2 separate regions of the Homo sapiens genome follow, and region 2 is linked to region 1. Evidence: promoter capture Hi-C in human tissues and cell types (Jung and others, 2019). All regions are on one chromosome and are shown on one strand. Each heading gives the region's core, a stretch centred on a gene start or on the middle of the fragment in contact. The rest is flanking DNA. Distances are from core to core; before and after follow the strand shown. Region 1 holds the start of OR1K1 (olfactory receptor family 1 subfamily K member 1). Region 2 overlaps DAB2IP (DAB2 interacting protein).

Region 1 (3,399 bases), core at 261-2,760:
GCTATGCCTGGGCAGATGTGTCCATCTGTCCACAGGAGTTTCTCACCCTGTGATGTGCATCTGCTTGGTGCTCAGTAAGTGTTTGATTTCATGGGGAAAGTTTTCAGGGATATGAGGAGTCATTCAGATTCTCTTGTTCTTTTTTTGTGTGTGTGTGAGATGGAGTCTCACTGTGCCACCCAGGCTGGAGTGCAGTGGCACGATCTTGGCTCACTGCAACCTCTGCCTCCTGGGTTCAAGATATTCTCCTGCCCCAGCCTCCCAAGTAGCTGGGATTACAGGCACGTGACACCACACCTGGCTAATTTTTGTATTTTTTTTTTTAGTAGAGATGGGGTTTCACCACATTGGCCAGGCTGGTCTCAAACTCCTGACCTCAGGTGATCCTCCTACCTTGGCCTCCCAAAGTGCTGGGATTACAGGCACGAGCCACTGCACCCGGCCTTGTTTTGTGTTTTAAGTCTGAAAATATCTGTATTCTTTACTCACACTTGAGTAGTATTTTTGCTGAGTGAAGAATTCCAAGTTCGAAATGCTTTTTTTCAGAATTTGAATATTGTTAAACTGTTCTATAATCTACTGTTGAATTGAAACATTTGATGGCAATCTAATTACATGGATATCATCAGTTCATTGCACCCCATGCCCTTAGGAAGTACTGGAGTCTCCTCTTCATTTCCAGTGTTCTAAAATTCCACTATTTGTGTCTAGGTGTTGTGAGTTCATATTCATTTCAATGTAAACATATGTGCTCTTCAGATTTTTTTTCTAGAGTTTCTTTCTTATGTTTCTCTCCTCCATCTTGGTTTGGTTTCATTTTTTCTTTTCCAAAATAAATGTCCATTGGCCAGATCTTTCTGTGTCGAACCTCACTCTGTTTCATCTTTTCTTTCATATTTTCCTCCTTCCCTGATCTACATCTTGTGCAATATCTTTTGTTCTATTTTTGCTTAAATCACAAACTATCAAAGTTGGACGTGACCTTGCAGATGAGTTACTTCAATTCTCTTATTTCGCAGGTTGAAAGTCTAAGGCCCCACAAGGTCAGGAGATCGAGAACATCCTGGCTAACACGGTGAAACCCCGTCTCTACTAAAAAATACAAAAAAAATTAGCCGGGCGTGATGGCGGGCGCCTGTAGTCCCAGCTACTCGGGAGGCTGAGGCAGGAGAATGGCGTGAACCCAGGAGGTGGAGCTTGCAGTGAGCTGAGATCGTGCCACTGCACTCCAGCCTGGGCGACAGAGCAAGACTCCATCTCAAAAAAAAAAAAAAAAAAAGAAAAGAAAATCTAAGGCCCAGAAAGGAAGAAGGTTCAGGGAGGTGAAATGACTTGCCCATAGTCATACCTGTGCCTAGGGCCAGGGCTACCTGACTCTAAACTCTTGATATTTTCCCATGGCCAGGAAGCCTTGAACAATTTATCCCCTCACCTTTTCCGTTAGACATCGGGGAGGTGACCCATCAATAGAAAGGAGCCCTTCAGGTTCCAGGCGAATAACCAGCCTGCCATGGAGGCTGCCAATGAGTCTTCAGAGGGAATCTCATTCGTTTTATTGGGACTGACAACAAGTCCTGGACAGCAGCGGCCTCTCTTTGTGCTGTTCTTGCTCTTGTATGTGGCCAGCCTCCTGGGTAATGGACTCATTGTGGCTGCCATCCAGGCCAGTCCAGCCCTTCATGCACCCATGTACTTCCTGCTGGCCCACCTGTCCTTTGCTGACCTCTGCTTCGCCTCCGTCACTGTGCCCAAGATGTTGGCCAACTTGTTGGCCCATGACCACTCCATCTCGCTGGCTGGCTGCCTGACCCAAATGTACTTCTTCTTTGCCCTGGGGGTAACTGATAGCTGTCTTCTGGCGGCCATGGCCTATGACTGCTACGTGGCCATCCGGCACCCCCTCCCCTATGCCACGAGGATGTCCCGGGCCATGTGCGCAGCCCTGGTGGGAATGGCATGGCTGGTGTCCCACGTCCACTCCCTCCTGTATATCCTGCTCATGGCTCGCTTGTCCTTCTGTGCTTCCCACCAAGTGCCCCACTTCTTCTGTGACCACCAGCCTCTCTTAAGGCTCTCGTGCTCTGACACCCACCACATCCAGCTGCTCATCTTCACCGAGGGCGCCGCAGTGGTGGTCACTCCCTTCCTGCTCATCCTCGCCTCCTATGGGGCCATCGCAGCTGCCGTGCTCCAGCTGCCCTCAGCCTCTGGGAGGCTCCGGGCTGTGTCCACCTGTGGCTCCCACCTGGCTGTGGTGAGCCTCTTCTATGGGACAGTCATTGCAGTCTACTTCCAGGCCACATCCCGACGCGAGGCAGAGTGGGGCCGTGTGGCCACTGTCATGTACACTGTAGTCACCCCCATGCTGAACCCCATCATCTACAGCCTCTGGAATCGCGATGTACAGGGGGCACTCCGAGCCCTTCTCATTGGGCGAAGGATCTCAGCTAGTGACTCCTGAGGGCAGGACCCCACTGAGGACAGACTGCATCACCCACACTGGCAACTGTTGAACGTGACCCTCTGTCCTCTGCTATGCTCAAAAATCATAACAGCTGTCATTTCCTGAGCACCTGCCCGGAAGCAGATCCTTGCCTGATCTCATTTTATTCCCACAGCCACCCAGGATGCAGATATTATGATCCGGTTTTACACACAAGAAAATTTGTCTTTAGGCTCAAAGATAAGAAGTGACTTTCCAGCCAGGCACAGCGGCTCACGCCTGTAATCCCAGCACTTTGAGAAGCCGAGGTGGTGGATCACCTGAGGTCGAGAGTTCAAGATCAGCCTGGCCAACATGGCGAAACCCTGTCTCTATTACAAATACCAAAATTAGCCAAGCATGGCGGCGCACAACTGTAATCCCATCTACTCGGGAGACTGAGGCAAGAGAATCACTTGAACCCAAAAGATGAAGATTGAAGTGAGCTAAGATTGTGCCACTGAGCTCCAGCCTGGGCAACAGAGCAAGACTCCATCTCAAAAAAAAAAGAAGTGACTTTCTCAAATTCACACAGTTCTTAGAAAGCAAAACCTGCACCCCTTCTGCCACATCATGCTCTTCTGATGATCACTCTTAGGCATTTAGAATGCATTCCACCATTTCCTACAGACCGAGGGCAATCCAGGAGGGTGTGACATCCGCAGAACATGCCTTGTGTGGATGAGCACTTTCTCTTCAGTCATATGGCCATGTGTTCTCAAATAAATTGACTTCTCAACTGGGACTGGAATAGAGAAATTCACACACTCATGTGTGAAGGGCCAGCCCCTCCTAATGAGCTCAGTGTGGCACACAGGAGGCCCTCTGCACATCTAATATGAATAAATGACTCTGTGTTCATACTAACATGCATTTAGAAGAAGTCCGTTCTTCTAATTCTTTGTTCTTTCCCTTGT
Region 2 (3,399 bases), core at 356-2,855, 1.1 Mb before region 1:
ACCTTTCCAGTTGCACTTCCCCCACCCCTCCCCGTTCCCTGCCCCACGAGTGCTCCAGCATACATCTTTGTCCTTGTTCCCTCTTCTTCTCTTCCTGGAACATTCTTTGTTCAGATACCTGTGTGGCTTGCTGCCCCACTTCATTCAAGTGTGAATCCAACCACCCGGTCAAACACAGCCCCCTCCCATCCTCTAGCCAGGACCTGGCTCTGCATTTGTCTCTAGCTGTTGAGTTCACCTGATGTTGTTACATACTTCGTGTACTTTTCCCACACTCTAGACTGTACGCCACATGCAAGTAGAACATTTATGTCTTGTACCCTGATGTGTCTCTGGCACCTAGAATCGGGCCTGACAGAAAGTTGGTGAATGAACAAACAAACATTTAATTGTACCCCATAATGTGGACACATTGCTGTCTACATTTTACAGATGGGGAAACTAGACTCAAAGAAGAGGTGGATTGACTAGCCCAATGTCATACAGCTGCAGCGGGACAGAACCAGGATTTTAGCCCAGTGTCTGTGGCCTCTGAGCCCTGTCTCAGCCAGTAGACACTCCCACCTCCCCAGAATCTAGGATGGACAGGAATGGGAGGGGGCCCAAAAAGGTGGGTAGGATTTTACCCTGGGGATTGAGGGGTGAGGCCAAGGAGGGGGTGAACCATGAGGGTCTGAGAGGGCCAGGGGCAGGTCGGGGACTTCAGTGAGGGTCAGGACAGGGAACCCTTGCAAGACAGTCTCTGAGGAGAGCACCCCCGGCACCAGCCACTCCCAAAGACCAGCCGCCTCCAGGCTTCTTGTGCTGGCTTTGGTTCCTGGCACGATTTCTGTTTCCCAGAGGAGCTCAGGCCTGGCCCGGCTTCCCAGGGTGGAGAAACACATGGTGAGTGAGTGTGTGTGCGCGCGTGTGTATGTGTGTGTGTGTCCAGCCTTGCTGTTTGCGTTGTCGTCACGTCTTCTTAATCAGCCTATTTCTGGGAGCGATGACTTCATCTCCTGTGATTCTCGACACAGCCATTGTCAGGCGTCCATGGAAAGATTGGGCCTGGCAGTGTCCATATTCCCCTAACGAGCCAGGTTGGGAGAGCCAATTGGCGGGCCCTGGTCTGACCTGGCTCGGGGGCTTATGGTCAGGTCTATCTCCAAGAGACTCCACTGCCCAGGGTCACCCTTAGATTTGGCCTCTTTGACCCTGGGGTACCCAGTGCAGCAAATTCCAGCCATTGTTTCCTGTGTGCTTCCTCTGTGTACGCTCTGCTGTGGGCAGGGGGTAGGGGACAGTCACGCCAATCTCTGCCCTCAAGGGCTCCTGCTGTCTGACAATGCAGATGAGTCAACAGACCTCACCTTAGAGGGTCTGTGCGTGAACAGAGAAGGGAGTGAGGACTCTACCAGCGCTCAAGGAAGGCTCCACTGAGTTGGTGGTTGGGCCACAGGGTGAAGGTGAAGGTTCCCTTGAGGGAGGGAAAGGGCTTTTGGGCATGCCAGGTAGTTGGGTATCACTGGGCACGGGGCGGCTATGTGTTGGGCCTGGAGAGTGCAAGGAATAGAGGGGAAGGTAGCAGGAAGGCAGCAGGGTATGGACTTGATCCTGAAAGTAGCTGGGAAGGATTTTAAGAAGAGATGGGACCTAGATAGATCAGCGATTTTAGAAGCAAGTCCTTGGCTGTGTGTAAGGGTAGGTGTGGAAAGGTGTGACACTGGGAAATATATACAGTATTTGGTTTCTTGGCACACGACTCCTGAAATCCTTAGATTCTTTAAAGTGATGTCTACTTATTTGCTAATGAGTTGACTGATGGCTGGCAGCCCCTAGGTGGCTTCAGAAAGGGGTCACAGAAAAGACCAAGGCAGGATTAGAGGGTTAGAACTTTCAGCCCACCCCACAGCCCCTGGGGCAGGGAGAGAGGCTGAAGGTTAAGTTAGTCGCCAATGGCTAGTGCTTTAATCAATCATGCCTATGAAATGAAGCTTTTATAAAAACCCAAAAGGACAAAGCTTGGGGAGCTTTCAGATAGCTGAATGCTTGGAGGTTCCTGGAGGGTTCCTAGGGAGGGCATGGAAGCTCCACGCCCCTGCCCACATACCTCTCCCTATGCATCTTTTCATTGGTATCCCTTTATAATAAACTGGCAAACAGAAGTAAATATTTCCCTGAGTTCTGTGAGCTGTTGCAGCAAATTAATCAAACCCAAAGAGGGGTTTATGGGAAACCCAGTTGATAGCCAGTCGGTGGGAAGCACTGGTAAACCAACACGGGGCTTGCAATTGGCATCTGAAGGATGGGGGGATAGTCTTGGGGACTGAGCCCTCAACCTGTGGATCTGATGCTATCTCCAGGTAGATAATGTCAAAATGGAACAAAATTAGAAGACATCTGGGCTGGTGTCTGCTGCCCAACTAATCGCCTGCTTGGTGTGTGGGGACAACCCCTCCCGCCCCCACCACATCTGGTGTTGGAAGTATTCTGCTTTGTGAGAGTATAAAAGGAAAGGGGAGAAACTGAGTTGGGTTTTTTCTACAGAAGGTGTCTGGGACAGGGAGGAAGAAGCTGGCGACTGAGGGCTCAGCCCTGTATTCCCCTTTATCTTCAAGGGGAAGGGTCTCTTTCCCCACCCTACTCCCTCATACTGTACTTCAGGAACTGGTGCCAAGGCCAGCTGAGCTCAGCCAACTGCCAGGAGCTCAGTTCCCCACCCTGGAATGCTGGTGGGCTGGGGATGGGAGGTGGAGAGGAGTAGGGATGTGGGGTGGTCTCTCAAAAATATTGTGCTGGACTTACTGCAGGCTTATGTATAGCTTTGCCTGGAGGCAGGGGGACAGTTGAATGAGTGCCAGCAGGATAAAGCACTCTGAGGGGTGATACCTTGTGTCCTGCTCTTGGCCTGGACACTCGTTACCCCCTCACCTCCATTCCCCATCTGGAGATCCCTCAAGCCCCACCTTGAAGCAGAGACACTGATGTAACAGTTCAGGCTCCTGAGCTGCACTGCCCGCGGTGAAGCTGCTTCCCAGCGTTGTGGCCTCTAGCAGGTGACTTGCTCTGTAGTGAGTTTTAGTTTCCCTCTCTGTCAAATGGGGACAAAAAGTGTAACCATTTCCTAAGATACTTGTGAGGATTAACATATGTTTTAAGAGGGAGGCTTAGCAGAGTGCCTACACATAGAGGCGCCAGCGTGCCTTAGCATGGCAGTGGGGGTGTGGCAAGGGTGAGGGCAACTGTCTTCACCATAATTGCCAAGGCTCCCTTAGGATTCAAAAAGCCAGGGATCAGAGGAGTGAGGAGGTGTGATGGGAAGGCCCAACAGGAGAGCCTGTTTGGCGGAGCAAGAAAGAGACTGGGCCCTCCTCTCCACCACTCTGTGACCTCATCTCTCTGAGCCTCAATTTCTTGGCC

Evidence for each region. The method cuts DNA at HindIII sites, captures the fragments that hold promoters and counts their contacts. A contact is called where the count stands out against the background at its distance.
Region 2: a contact is called between a fragment that was not itself captured here and the fragment with the promoter of OR1K1 in region 1, in 1 of the 25 tissues and cell types used here (hippocampus).

Annotation. Positions count from the first base shown.
Region 1 is chr9:122,798,613-122,802,011 of GRCh38, forward strand. It overlaps OR1K1 (olfactory receptor family 1 subfamily K member 1), which reads left to right and starts at 1,511. Exons shown (of 1, transcript NM_080859.1): 1 at 1,511-2,461. The coding sequence starts at 1,511. The coding sequence ends at 2,461. The HindIII fragment of the contact is 19,122 bases long and covers 1-3,399 here.
Region 2 is chr9:121,724,262-121,727,660 of GRCh38, forward strand. The region is part of intron 3 of DAB2IP (DAB2 interacting protein); the gene reads left to right. Among named protein-coding and RNA genes, the nearest start is that of DAB2IP, 74 kb to the left of the region's middle. The HindIII fragment of the contact is 4,977 bases long and covers 1-3,399 here.